5 separate regions of the Homo sapiens genome follow, and all the other regions are linked to region 4. Evidence: promoter capture Hi-C in 16 types of primary human blood cells and fetal thymus (Javierre and others, 2016). All regions are on one chromosome and are shown on one strand. The core of a region is centred on a gene start or on the middle of the fragment in contact, and the rest is flanking DNA. Distances in the headings are between cores, read along the strand shown. Region 1 holds the start of UTP6 (UTP6 small subunit processome component). Region 2 overlaps SUZ12 (SUZ12 polycomb repressive complex 2 subunit). Region 3 overlaps C17orf75 (chromosome 17 open reading frame 75). Region 4 holds the start of RHOT1 (ras homolog family member T1). Region 5 holds the start of SUZ12 (SUZ12 polycomb repressive complex 2 subunit).

Region 1 (2,701 bases), core at 63-2,562, 240 kb before region 4:
ATTCTCCTGCCTCAGACTCCCGAGTAGCTGGGACTACAGGCGCTCACCACCACGCTCAGCTAATTTTTGTATTTTTAGTAGAGACGGGGTTTCACCATATTGGCCAGGCTGGTCTCGAACTCCTGACCTCGTGATCCACCCACCTCGGCCTCCCAAAGTGCTGGGATTACAGGCGTGAGCCACAGCGCCTGGCTGGTATTAATAAAGACTTCTTTTACTCCAAGTTCAGGTCACTTAAATTTTAATAATAAATTTCTTTCCGAAATTCCTCTTATTTCTGAGTTCTCAACATGTAAATTTTTTTAAAAATCTAAATTGCGTCTGCCTTAAAAGACTTATTACTACGAAGGACTTACGGGAGAAGATTCAGAGTCCTTAGCTAAGGAATGAACATATGACAAATATATATTAGGAGAATTTAATGCAAGATGTGCAAGACAGGTGTCTTTAGTAATGGTAACATTAACCTTAACTGAGCACTTTCTAAGCGTCCACACTGCTTTGTTTTGTGTTTCATTAACGAATGCTTACTTTGAAGCTCTGAGTCACATTACTACATTCAGACGTTGCAAAACAAAGCAACAGTCACAGAAACCATTAAAAACTATTAAACATAATTTTAACACGCTACTGAATGTCTACCATGTGCCAGGCGCTGTAGTTAGGCTCTGGAGTAGCATATGAAACTGATTTCAATGGTCCCCACCTTCAAGTCTAGTTAGGAATTTATCCACTCCCCCTGGGCTCTCACAGCACTCTGTTCCCATCCCTACAGCAGTACAAGGTACTACAATCAACTTACAGTACACTGTTATCAAAATATTTAATTTGTCTGTCTCCCCCACCACACTCTGCCCAATTAGCTCCTAATGAGCAGGAATCCTGGGTTTATCACCTTTACAGCCCTAAGACCCGGCTCCATGAAGGGCTGTCAAAACGTCTGATGGGTAAGTAGACGGACGGATTACCTTGCAACGAATGAAAAATTAATTCTGGACATCACCGAAAACGAGAAATGGGCTTCCACCACGTTAGGAAAAGTAAACACAGGTCGAGCGTCCCCACATCTAGCCCCTGCCACACACTCCCAACCTCCCCTCAGGCCGCCTCAGCTCTTCCCTCTCCCCAACCCTCTCTCACTTAATCTCCGCATGACTGAACAGTCCAATGCGCTCCAGCTGTTCCAATTCCGGGAGCCGATCTTCTATGCGTTCCTGAATTATCTCTGCCATGAGGTCCGAGGTCTACAACCCCGCGGGTAGCTTCTCAACAGCGAACACGAGCAGGAAGCTCCCGGTTTCAGGTTCGGAGACCCAGCCCTACCACCGACGCGTCCGGACGTAACGTGCTCCCTAGGTCCCGCCTTTTCCGCTTCCGCCACCTCCTACTTAGGGGAAGGCCCTTCGGCTTCTACAGCCACCGTCCCCTCCCTGTGGCCGATTGTGGGATTGCAGCGAGAACCCGCCCTGGTCTTGGGCAGGACGACTCTAGCGGACAGGAGTTGAGGGGCGGGGCTAGACGGGAGGGAGGGGTTAAGTGCGCGCGCCGCTAGACTTGGACAGCCATCAGGAAAAGCGCCTCCAGGTGTAGAGAGGTGGGCTGCTCAAGCCTGAAAGGGACACGAGATGCATTTTCTTCAGAATATTGTCTCCCATCCCACGTCCTGACTTCCCAACACCAAGAACAACAACAAAAAAAAAAGCAAAGGAGGAGGATATTGTACAATTAAACATTTTTGAAAGCCGGTCGCGGTGGCTCATGCCTGTAATCCCAGCAGTTTAGGAGGCCGAGGCGGGCAGATCACCTGAAGTCAGGAGTTCGAGACCATCCTGGCTAACATGATGAAACCCCGTTTCTACTAAAAATGCAAAAAAATTAACTGGGCGTGCTGGCACGCGCCTGTAATCCCAGCTACTCGGGAGGCTGAGGCAGGAGAATCGCTTGAACCTGGGAGGCCGAGATCGCGCCATTGCACTCCAGCTTGGGCAACAAGAGTGAAACTCCGTCTCTAAATAAATAAATAAATAAAATAGAATTGTTTATTATTTAAATCAATATCCTGTCTTTGTAAGCAATAGCTTTCAAAATATATGTCCCTAGGTGAATATCAGACACTATAAATTCTTTTTAGAAAAGGAGATTTTTGTATTGAAAAGTTTGAGAATTACCAAAATAAATCACTAAGGTATAGACACCCTCCTTAAACCATTGCCCAAGCAACTTAGCATTTCTAAGAGAAACACCAGGCAACACAGCTTGGAGGCAATATTGCTGGTATAGTTAGTAAACCTCAAATGATAACTACATGGTTCAGTTCTTTTTTAGTTCTGGATATAAAAAAGCCAAAGCAGCAGTTCTTGCTAAATCTGCTTATTTCAACATTCACATTAGCACCTGGATCCTGTGTGTGATTTATGAAAGGAGAATGGGCTCAGCAAAACCATGTTCCACCTCTGTGCCTTGCATTTCTTTCTTTCCTTTCACATTTTACCCACTCATCTCAGAACTGAGACGAGGGTTGGCTTGTGCTACACCATTTCTTGAATCCTTCAGCTGTAAGACATGTCAGAAGTGGAAGGAAATCACGAATGTAAGACAAAGATAGAATTTATTTGTAAAAGTAAAATCTCTGGGGCTGTGTTAACAGTAAGAGTGGAGATGACACTAGATAGTAAACTCCATATGGGCAGGGAATTTTTTC
Region 2 (2,700 bases), core at 61-2,560, 140 kb before region 4:
CACCCACCTCGGCCTCCCAAAGTGCTAGAATTACAGGCGTAATTACCTGGCCCAAATATTTTATGCTTTTAAGACTGCTTATGTAATTGAAGAACAGAAATTATATCTGCTGTTCTAATGGTACCTGTTTAAGCTTAAGTTAGATTAAATCTCTTGAAATTTTTAAAATGGTAAGCTCATTCAGATGATTGAATTTCAGTTTCTCTATAGTTTTACTGCTTCTTTAATCATCTTTTATTTTACTGGAATTGGATATAGTCTTATTATAATGGTTATCACTGTTGCATTTGACAAAAATGCTTTGTATTGCTATTCATATTCTGTTTTTATTAAATAGGTTTATTGCTGACAATCAAATGAATCATGCCTGTATGCTGTTTGTAGAAAATTATGGACAGAAAATAATTAAGAAGAATTTATGTCGAAACTTCATGCTTCATCTAGTCAGCATGCATGACTTTAATCTTATTAGCATAATGTCAATAGATAAAGCTGTTACCAAGCTCCGTGAAATGCAGCAAAAATTAGAAAAGGGGGAATCTGCTTCCCCTGCAAACGAAGAAATAACTGAAGAACAAAATGGGACAGCAAATGGATTTAGTGAAATTAACTCAAAAGAGAAAGCTTTGGAAACAGATAGTGTCTCAGGGGTTTCAAAACAGAGCAAAAAACAAAAACTCTGAAAAGCTCTAACCCCATGTTATGGACAAACACTGAAATTACATTTTAGGGAATTCATCCTCTAAGAATTATGTTTTTGTTTTTAATCATATGTTCCAAACAGGCACTGTTAGATGAAGTAAATGATTTCAACAAGGATATTTGTATCAGGGTTCTACTTCACTTCATTATGCAGCATTACATGTATATCACTTTTATTGATGTCATTAAAACATTCTGTACTTTAAGCATGAAAAGCAATATTTCAAAGTATTTTTAAACTCAACAAATGTCATCAAATATGTTGAATTGATCTAGAAATTATTTCATATATAAATCAGAATTTTTTTGCATTTATGAACGGCTGTTTTTCTACTTTGTAATTGTGAGACATTTTCTTGGGGAGGGAAAATTGGAATGGTTCCCTTTTTTAGAAATTGAAGTGGTCTTCATATGTCAACTACAGAAAAGGAAAAAAATAGAAATTGAAGGATTTTTATGAAATTATATTGCATTACTATTTGCAGTCAAACTTTGATCCTTGTTTTTGAAATCATTTGTCAATTCGGAATGAAAAATTATAATGTAATTTTACATTACATAAGTTCCTTTTACAATTAAAAAATAGCACTTCTTCATCTTATGCCTGTTTGAGAAGATATTAAATTTTCACATTGTTGACAGTGAAATGCTATGTTGGTTTATAAGATTACAGACCATTTGTTTTCATGTGGATAATTTTAGTGCATTGCTCACCCGGTATGTTTTTTTTTTTTAACTTGAACATTTTGCTTGTTTTGTTTTTCTTTTTTAATTAGATAATCACACGGAAAATTAAGCTGTTCATATCTTTAAATTAGGATTGCAAACCAAGGAAAGAACGCATTTGAGATTTTAAGATGTCACTTATAAGGGGAGAAGTGTTCTTAAAAAGTCAACCAGAAAACTGTTATGCCTTTTATTTGTTTGCAAGGATGTCTTTGTAATGTGTTTCATGAATAGAATATCCAATAGAGATAAGCTGACTTGAATCATTTTGAGCAATTTTGCCCTGTGTTATATGTGTTTCACGCACATATTTGCAGTTGGATTTTCTCCAACAGAAAGTGGATTCACTACTGGCACATTAACAAGCACCAATAGGTTTTTATTCCAACTCCGAGCACTGTGGTTGAGTAACATCACCTCAATTTTTTATTATCCTTAAAGATATTGCATTTTCATATTCTTTATTTATAAAGGATCAATGCTGCTGTAAATACAGGTATTTTTAATTTTAAAATTTCATTCCACCACCATCAGATGCAGTTCCCTATTTTGTTTAATGAAGGGATATATAAGCTTTCTAATGGTGTCTTCAGAAATTTATAAAATGTAAATACTGATTTGACTGGTCTTTAAGATGTGTTTAACTGTGAGGCTATTTAACGAATAGTGTGGATGTGATTTGTCATCCAGTATTAAGTTCTTAGTCATTGATTTTTGTGTTTAAAAAAAAATAGGAAAGAGGGAAACTGCAGCTTTCATTACAGATTCCTTGATTGGTAAGCTCTCCAAATGATGAGTTCTAGTAAACTCTGATTTTTGCCTCTGGATAGTAGATCTCGAGCGTTTATCTCGGGCTTTAATTTGCTAAAGCTGTGCACATATGTAAAAAAAAAAAAAAAAAGATTATTTTAGGGGAGATGTAGGTGTAGAATTATTGCTTATGTCATTTCTTAAGCAGTTATGCTCTTAATGCTTAAAAGAAGGCTAGCATTGTTTGCACAAAAAGTTGGTGATTCCCACCCCAAATAGTAATAAAATTACTTCTGTTGAGTAAACTTTTTATGTCATCGTAAAAGCTGAAAAAATCCCTTTGTTTCTATTTATAAAAAAAGTGCTTTTCTATATGTACCCTTGATAACAGATTTTGAAGAAATCCTGTAAGATGATAAAGCATTTGAATGGTACAGTAGATGTAAAAAAAATTCAGTTTAAAAGAACATTTGTTTTTACATTAAATGTTTATTTGAAATCAAATGATTTTGTACATAAAGT
Region 3 (2,700 bases), core at 164-2,663, 190 kb after region 4:
GAGTACTAACTATATCGTTAGTAGAGATGGGGTTTCACCATATTGGCCAGGCTGGTCTCAAACTCCTGACCTCAGATGATCCACCTGCCTCAGCCTCCCAAAGTGCTGGGATTACATGTGTGAGCCACTGCGCCTGACCCATTTATTTCTTTATAAAAACACCTATAATGAATTATTTAAGACATGTATAATGGCCTAAAAAAACAGTGTGCTCACCACATGGCTAAGGAATACCAAAATGGCTGAAGCCCCCTGTATGCCCCTTCCCAATCACATCCCCCTTCCTTTCCCATCAGAGAGGATAATCATTCCCACAGACGTCTTTAAACTTTTCCCATATACCTTTGCACGTGTAAGCCTTATCTACATTATTCTGCATATGTTAAAACTTTTATGTATTTTTTCTTTTATGGCTATTTCACTAAATAGTATGTTTGAGAGCTATATTGACACAAGTAGCTCTAGTTCATTCTTTTTCACTGCTCTGTTATATTCCATTGCATGAATATAGCAGCTTATCAGTTTTCTTGTTGATAAACACTTAAATTGCTTCCAATTCCTTGCTTTTTCAAGTAATGCCTTTATGGACATTTTAAAATTCATCTCCTTGTGTACACATACTAGAATTTCTTTATGTACCTAGGTGTGGAATTGCTAGGCATGGCATGATTTCCATGTTTCTAGAATTATATTGTTTTCACCAAGTGGTTTCTCATGGTTTGAGATAACCATGTAAAACTGCACAAGGCAGGAAGAATAAGGTTGTATCATAGGCTCTCAGTGCAAAGATGGGGACTCGCAAGAGATGTAGGAAGGCTGCTTCAGAGGTTGTAGCTCACCTGCATTGCAGAACTGAGGCTGGGAGCTGCTGCAATCGATGACCACAGACTTATGCTGCTCCTCTGTCATGGCCATGCACAAAGAAGTCATGGTGCCTTCATGAATAAGTCCTTGAAGACTGGCCACACTCAGAAACCTGCCACACACACAAGTCCATTTCCACAAACAATATTGCAGGACGGAAGGATGAAAACAAATTTATTTTGCACTGGGCTGGTGGGGAAGGGATGGAAGGAGCAGTTTACAAACACAGATGTCAATCTTGCTGTGGAAAAGCTTTTCTCTTTGAAAAAACTGTTCTTTACCTGTTAATGTCTCTCTTTGTTTTTTCATCTGATTCTTTAACTTCAACAGGAGTGTAACTCAAAGCCTATGAGAGAAAAATAAAGCCTGATTGGTACATATATTCCAGTTTTTCTTGAGCAGCTACTCATGACTAAATGTCCCCATAAGTCCCTACCACACTGGACAACAATTGATGGGCACTGGTCACAAGCTCTCCAGAGCCTTGTTCAGCCACTGCTCATTAACATTTTATAGAATCAAAATTGCTCTGGATTTTTGTTTTCCTTTTCAAATTGTTTTGGAAACTATACCTTTCCCAGATCACTTGGAAAAGTAATTATTTTAAAATGTTTTATCCTATTAGGAAGACTCAGCATTTGAAATTCAACTCTACCTTAGTAATATCACTTTCTAGATCTGAGAAAATAAAGTGTGGTCTATCTTGATAGCAAGCATAGTTTGAATATTTGGGGAGGGATGGGAGTCATGTTCAGAGAAAATGAGTATGTTTCTAAATCATCCAAAGTGATTCTCAGTTAAGGAAATGCTCTCATTTGGCAGTACTTACAGCATGTAGCAGAAAGGTAAGCTTTTCCTGAAAGAGAAGAACAACCCTTTGGATTGGGCATACAACATCCTCAAACCAGCTGCTCAGATAGGATTTTATGTGACTCTCCAGGCCCCTTGCCTAAATCAAGAAAGAACATCATTTGCTTTAATATAAGCCTTTCCTTTAGTGGACTTCATATTTTCTTCATCATATCCTTGATGGTGAAAAAGACCAGGATAGACACCTCCCTTTTTAAAGCTAACACCACCAATTCAAAAAAAGAAATTGTGATATACCTTTCCTGGCTTGTTGGGCAGGGTGAGGGTTAAATCTGTACTGAATTTATTTAAAACACACCAAGAAATGCATTCTATAAAATGAAGAGACTGAATAGGGTTCCATGCTATTTCTTCACAGGGAAGAGTTGGGCACTCACAAGTCCCTCTCCTCCCACTGTACTGTGCACTCAATGGAGATACTCACTCAATAATCCTCATTTCCCTGGCACCTGTGGTACAGTGTCTAAAACATGCATAGTATGAGCTTATTAAGTGCCTTTTGAATTAGTCATGTAGATAGAGAATTCATTCGTATTCAGAATGTGAATGGGGAAGGATACAAGTAACTCATCAAAGCACTCCACTCCACTCCAGATGTCAGACATGCTACCGTGAGCACATCTGGCTTTCTAGGCTATACTGCTCCCTGAAGACTAGTGTCACACACGAAGAGCTCTAGTCCGGGAGAACAACTCTATTAGACTTGCATCAGTTGCTCACTCCTGCACTATCCCTTCCTCTCTCCTGCAGTATCTTCTAAGTATGTGAAAAGTATAACTTCTACTATATATGTAATGGGTAGTAAATTTGTGAGAGTCATGACTAACAACTGCTACAAGCTGAAAGCATTGTTTTTGTTTGCTTTTTTGAGACAGGGTCTCACTCTGTCATCCAGGCTGGAGTGCAGTGGTGCAATCATAGCTCACTGCAGCCTCAACTTCCCAGGCTCAAGCGATCCTCCCACCT
Region 4 (2,700 bases), core at 100-2,599:
TGCACTCCAGCCTGGGCGACAGAGCGAGACTCCGTCTCAAAACAAAACCAAAACAAAACAAAAAATCTGTGGATTACAACTTTTTAGTGACTTTTTAATATAATAATGATAGCTGAGATCAGTAGAGCACACGCTCTGAGTCTGGCACTGTACCAAATGCTTGACAAGTATTATAGTATTTATTACTCACAACCATCTCAAGAGGAAGGTATTATCATCATTATTTCCATGCTACAGAAGAAGGAACAGTGGCTGAGGGAAGTAAAAATAAAAGCACTTAGTCGAGATCACAGAGCTATTATGTGGAGCCTAGATTCAAACCCAGGAAATTTGCCAGCAACTCTTAACTGCTGCAAGAGACCACATGACTTCTCCTAGGAGAAAGGGAAGTTGGTATTACGCACATTTCATTCCCTTTAAGTGTTTATTGTGTAATATTTAAGATAGAAAAAATGTACATTATGCACAGATAGTGCTTCCTCATTAATTTATGTATTTTATATTTCCCACTGTGTGCCAAGTATTAGGGATGTGATATATATTCGCACGCGTATGTATATATATATATTTGCCATTGTGTACCAAACATTAAGCATGTAACAACAAATTCCTCCAGATGGAGAGGGTCACGAGAAAATTAAGGCAATGTTAGAAAAATCATCTAGAGTTTATTATCGAGTGCCACCTCCGTGTCTAGCATTACGCTGGGTAAGCCTGAGTAAAGAAGAGTGTCCGAAAACCCTGCCATAAAATAAACTACATAGACAGAAAAAAAGTCACTTAGTTTGGTTATAAAGAAAGGAGTCTTGTTCACACAGCGTAAAAACGAATCTTATAATCGTATTTTATAAGCATCAGAGGCAAAAGCAACTAGGGTGACGGGCTTTGGGGAGTGGAAAGCGCCGGATCCTGGGAGCCAGTCGCCCTACTCGATCAAGCATTTTCTGACGGCCCTATCCAATAACGTGGGGACGCAGCTGAAAACCATGCAAGCTGATCGCTGCCCTCCCGGAGTTTATGGTCTGGTGAGAAGATCCCTGCTCTGAGTCACTGCCAAGCTCTAGCTATGTGACTTTGAACAGGGAATTTCTGTCCCTATCTATAAAATAAACGGGGTTAAACCAGGGAATCCGCCATTCAAATTCCTGGCCCAAGTGTCTCCGGGGTCGCGGTGCCCAAAGGAGGGTGGGCGAGGCTCCCTGGGCCTGCGCTGCGGCGGCCTGACAGCGGGAGCGCTGTTCCGGCGCAGAGCGCGTTCGCGTTCCGAAAGCGCGTGTCCCTCGCCGCGTGCCGTCGTCCCCGCCGCCGCCGCCGCCGCCGCCGCCGCCGCCGCCGCCGCCGCCGCCGCCACAGCCCGCTGGGCCGGAGGAGGCGGAGCTGGCGCTGTCCCGGCTCTCTTGCGGGGAAGCAACTGAGGGGGCGGCGCGGCGGGCCCCGGCGGCCGAAGAGGCTGGCAGGTGGCGCCGTGGGGTGGGTGCTCCTGGTGAGAGGAGTCCACTCCGTGCGTGCGGGCGGAGGCCGGCCCCCGAGAGCCGCCGACATGAAGAAAGACGTGCGGATCCTGCTGGTGGGAGAACGTGAGTCCGCACCCTCTGGCCGGCCCCTGAGTCCCTGCCCTCCCTGCCCCTGCAGCCCCTGTCGCCCCTGTCGCCCCTGCAGCCCCAACCTTTGCAGCCCCGGCCCTTCTCGCGCCTCACAGCTCCGCTCGCCTTTCTCCGCGTTCCTAGGCCTTCCAGCCCCTTCACTCTTCTCTTTTGGCTGGCCGCCGGCGGCCCTCACCCTGTCACCTCACCTGGGCCCTCCAGAGATCTCCTTTCCCTGTTCCCCAGCCGTCCTCCCAAGCCATGTCCCTATTAGCCCTAACCGCCCGACCTCATCCCTCCGAAGCTTCTCTCCTCCTTTTCCTCTTCGAACCCTGTCCTTCTGGGCCTCACAGTTTCCCAGGCCGCCTCCTTTCAGACCTTCTTGTCTTCTGGAGATTCCCTTATCACTGCCAGGCAGGTGCTGGAATAAGCAGACTGACCAATAGGGATTGCGTGAACCGGCTCCCGGGGAAGCTGGGGGAGGGGTGCAGAACTATTCGACTTGTGGGCAAGGTCAGGTTTCTGCATTTTTTTGGCACTCGCAGTCTTCACTCTCTCTATGTATTGACATTAAGATATGAGTAGTGGAAAGGGCCGGATCCTTTTTAGCAGTACTTGTACTTTGCATTGGACTAACTCCTCGTACTCGAGATATTTCATCAAAAATTTTTACTCAACTTCGAGTTATGCAAGCGCTCAATGAATTAGAATTATCTGGGGAGGGTCCAATTGTTGTTACCCTAAAGCGTAATCTTTGCCCTCTTTTTAAGCATTATTTATTCCATAGTTACTTCGTAGTTAACTTATTAATAACCACAGGCACACAGACATTTGATATCTCCCCCCACCCAGAAATTTCATACATTTCACCTTTTGAAAATATAATAAAGGAGAGTTCCCTCTGTTCACTGACATGAGGACGCAACAGCGGGGACTTCTTGATTTCACTCTGCAAGTTATGTAACTCAGTTGCTAGGACTAAAATAAGAAAGTGGGCCAGGGATAACTGGATTGTTTGTTTTAAAGAGTTAATACATTCGTTAATAGTCTGCCATTGCTGTTTCGAAGCATTCTGTTTTAAACCATTATTTCATTCTTGGTAACCCCTCAGGGTCAC
Region 5 (2,700 bases), core at 172-2,671, 210 kb before region 4:
CCTTCAACTACTAATAGGTGACAAATCATAGTAGTGTTAGCAGTGCCTGTGGCTTTGTTACCAAGAGAACTTACTGGTATTTCTCTCGGGAGGCCAAGGTTGCAGTGAGCCAAGATCGCGCCCTTGCACTCCAGCCTGGGTGACAGAGCGAGAATCCGTCTCAAAAAAAAAAAAGACTACAGAGGATAGTGTAACAAACAAGAGGGGATTCTGAACTTTTTGTCTGAATATAAAATATAGCTTGTCCTTAACAACAGGCATTCCTTATTTCAGGTAAGAAGGTATACCTAATTTCAGATGTGTTCCTGAAATGCCAAATACTATATACGTCATTTGCAGAGATCACTTTCTTAAGTAGCAAAGGCTTTGATAAAACCTGTACTTTAGGTATTTAATCATTACAAAGATAACTAGTTTTGTAAACAACTTGAATAACCATTCCAGAGACACTTGTTTTGTAAACAGTGTTTTGCAGTTAACTATAGAGAACCCAAGTAGACATTTAAAAAATGCTGTTTAGAGTATGAAATGGTTCTATGTTTATAGGTTGGGATTTTTGAAATTTTAACGTAATATAAAAATTGGAAGAACATCCTTAGAGATCATCTTGTCCAACCTGAAATTCAAATCATTAGCTCAACTCCAAACCAATCTGTGCCAGAAGACTGAAATGGGCCTATGTGTCTATCGTTCAAAGCAAGACCTGGCCAGGCGCGGTGGCTCACGCCTGTAATCCCAGCACTTTGGGAAGCCGAGGCAGGTGGATCACGAGGTCAGGAGATCGAGACCAGCCTGGCCAAAATGGTGAAACCCTGTCTCTACTAAAAACACAAAAAATTAGCCAGGCGTGGTGGCGAGCGCCTGTAATCCCAGCTACTCTGGAGGCTGAGGCAGGAGAATCGCTTCAACCCGGGAGGCGCAGGTTGTAGGGAGACGAAGTCGCGCCACTGGCACTCCAGCCTGGGCGACAGAGGGAGGCTCCGTCTCAAAAAAAAAAAAAAGCAAGACTCGCAAAACACCGGATTCCTTCTCAGCTTTCTGAGCTGAAAAGGTATAGATCCTAAAGAAGAGAAGAGTGTATGTAAGTACTTCTCAACCAGTTTACCTCTCTGACCACTCTTACGGTGTTTGGGGGCAACAAACTAAGGATCTAGACTCGCTAAACCGCTCGCTGGGTCCTTCTCTCCCCACAATGCACCGGGGCCAGCAGGAAGGCCGCTCCGACCCCTAATTTTCCCGCGAATTCAGTTCAAAGAGGCGGCCGGGCCCGCGATCGGCAGCGCGCACGGGCCAACCAAGCCGCGCCTCCGCGAGAAGCGCCTCCGCGTGACTGACGGGGGAATCCGCGGGCCAACGGGCTGGGCGGCCCGGCGGTGCGCGCTCCCGCCGGCCAATCAGAGCGCCGGGCGGGGGAAGTGGGCGGAGCGAGGCCAGGGTAGGGTGAGCGGCCTCCGAAGCGGAGCGGGGCTCTGAGGAGACACTTTTTTTTTCCTCCCTCCTTCCCTCCTCTCCTCCTCCCTTCCCTTCCCCTCTCCTCCCCTCTCTCCTCCTTCCCCCCTCGGTCCGCCGGAGCCTGCTGGGGCGAGCGGTTGGTATTGCAGGCGCTTGCTCTCCGGGGCCGCCCGGCGGGTAGCTGGCGGGGGGAGGAGGCAGGAACCGCGATGGCGCCTCAGAAGCACGGCGGTGGGGGAGGGGGCGGCTCGGGGCCCAGCGCGGGGTCCGGGGGAGGCGGCTTCGGGGGTTCGGCGGCGGTGGCGGCGGCGACGGCTTCGGGCGGCAAATCCGGCGGCGGGAGCTGTGGAGGGGGTGGCAGTTACTCGGCCTCCTCCTCCTCCTCCGCGGCGGCAGCGGCGGGGGCTGCGGTGTTACCGGTGAAGAAGCCGAAAATGGAGCACGTCCAGGCTGACCACGAGCTTTTCCTCCAGGCCTTTGAGAGTGAGTGTGTGCGAGGCTTTGAGGGCAGGAAGACCCACTCTGCCAACACCGGGGATGGGACACTCTGCTGGGCCCCCTTCCTCCTCGGGAGTCCACTTGTGTGGTAGTGGAGGGAGGAATTGAGGGGATGTCCCCCTTTCGGAGATTACGTCTCCAGGGGATCCGGAGTCCAGGGCCTTGGGAGAGCTGGAAAAGAGGGTCCGGGCGGGTTCTTGACTCCCCCAAGATTGACGCAAGAGGCTCGGGACTGGGGCCCCACGTTCAGAGCAGGCGGCTTTTAGATGAGGAGGTAGCAGTTGAACTGAGCCGCAGTCACATCCCGAGACTGGTTCTTGTTTTCTTTCATGCCTTTCGGACTCTAGAAATACAGGGGTTTCGGTTGTAGCTTTTGAGGGGCAAAATGAAGCCTGTGAAGGGATGAGTGCAGTGGAACCGAAGAAAGTGTCCTTAGTCTGAAATGCCTTCGCGCTAACTTGGTGCTGCAGGTTCCTATGGCACCTTTGGATGCTTAAAACCCTTCAAATCTATCCACCCATTTTGTGGATATGTAAACTGAGCCAGAGAGTGGTCAAGCATCTTCTCTGGAGACGACCCCGGAATTCTGCTTTTTCTACCTGGCTTACAGAACATTTTCTTGCGTCAATTTCTGTTTCTAAGTTCTGTCTGGAAGGTGAAACTGACTTATTTGGAAAGGAGAGCAAGGTGTCTGGAAACAAACAATAGAATTTATTAAAAACATCGTGACTATGAATAATCCTGATTGTT

The links. The method cuts DNA at HindIII sites, captures the fragments that hold promoters and counts their contacts. A CHiCAGO score of 5 or more calls a contact.
Region 1: the fragment with the promoter of UTP6 here is called in contact with the fragment with the promoter of RHOT1 in region 4 in 1 of 17 cell types (naive CD4 T cells); the score reaches 5.1 in naive CD4 T cells.
Region 2: a fragment that was not itself captured here is called in contact with the fragment with the promoter of RHOT1 in region 4 in 15 of 17 cell types (endothelial precursors, megakaryocytes, erythroblasts and 12 more); the score reaches 16.8 in endothelial precursors.
Region 3: a fragment that was not itself captured here is called in contact with the fragment with the promoter of RHOT1 in region 4 in 1 of 17 cell types (erythroblasts); the score reaches 5.3 in erythroblasts.
Region 5: the fragment with the promoter of SUZ12 here is called in contact with the fragment with the promoter of RHOT1 in region 4 in 1 of 17 cell types (activated CD4 T cells); the score reaches 5.5 in activated CD4 T cells.

What each region holds. Positions count from the first base shown.
Region 1 is chr17:31,900,396-31,903,096 of GRCh38, forward strand. It overlaps UTP6 (UTP6 small subunit processome component), which reads right to left and starts at 1,313. Exons shown (of 19, transcript NM_018428.3): 1 at 1,141-1,313. The coding sequence starts at 1,232. RefSeq lists enhancers at 788-937, 981-1,572, 1,258-1,307. The HindIII fragment of the contact is 12,725 bases long and covers 1-2,701 here.
Region 2 is chr17:31,998,321-32,001,020 of GRCh38, forward strand. SUZ12 (SUZ12 polycomb repressive complex 2 subunit) reads left to right here. Exons shown (of 16, transcript NM_015355.4): 16 at 338-2,700. The coding sequence ends at 683. Among named protein-coding and RNA genes, the nearest start is that of LRRC37B, 7.7 kb to the right of the region's middle. The HindIII fragment of the contact is 1,377 bases long and covers 623-1,999 here.
Region 3 is chr17:32,333,630-32,336,329 of GRCh38, forward strand. C17orf75 (chromosome 17 open reading frame 75) reads right to left here. Exons shown (of 10, transcript NM_022344.4): 6 at 1,694-1,813; 7 at 1,146-1,210; 8 at 840-976. Among named protein-coding and RNA genes, the nearest start is that of C17orf75, 7.2 kb to the right of the region's middle. The HindIII fragment of the contact is 598 bases long and covers 1,115-1,712 here.
Region 4 is chr17:32,141,153-32,143,852 of GRCh38, forward strand. It overlaps RHOT1 (ras homolog family member T1), which reads left to right and starts at 1,350. Exons shown (of 20, transcript NM_001033566.3): 1 at 1,350-1,577. The coding sequence starts at 1,541. LOC105371730 (a long non-coding RNA gene) reads right to left here and starts at 1,983. Exons shown (of 2, transcript NR_136413.1): 1 at 1,873-1,983; 2 at 74-1,561. RefSeq lists an enhancer at 681-850 and silencers at 1,311-1,540, 1,571-1,630. The HindIII fragment of the contact is 3,152 bases long and covers 1-1,885 here.
Region 5 is chr17:31,935,586-31,938,285 of GRCh38, forward strand. It overlaps SUZ12 (SUZ12 polycomb repressive complex 2 subunit), which reads left to right and starts at 1,422. Exons shown (of 16, transcript NM_015355.4): 1 at 1,422-1,935. The coding sequence starts at 1,662. RefSeq lists a silencer at 1,313-1,772 and an enhancer at 1,513-2,098. The HindIII fragment of the contact is 8,448 bases long and covers 1-2,700 here.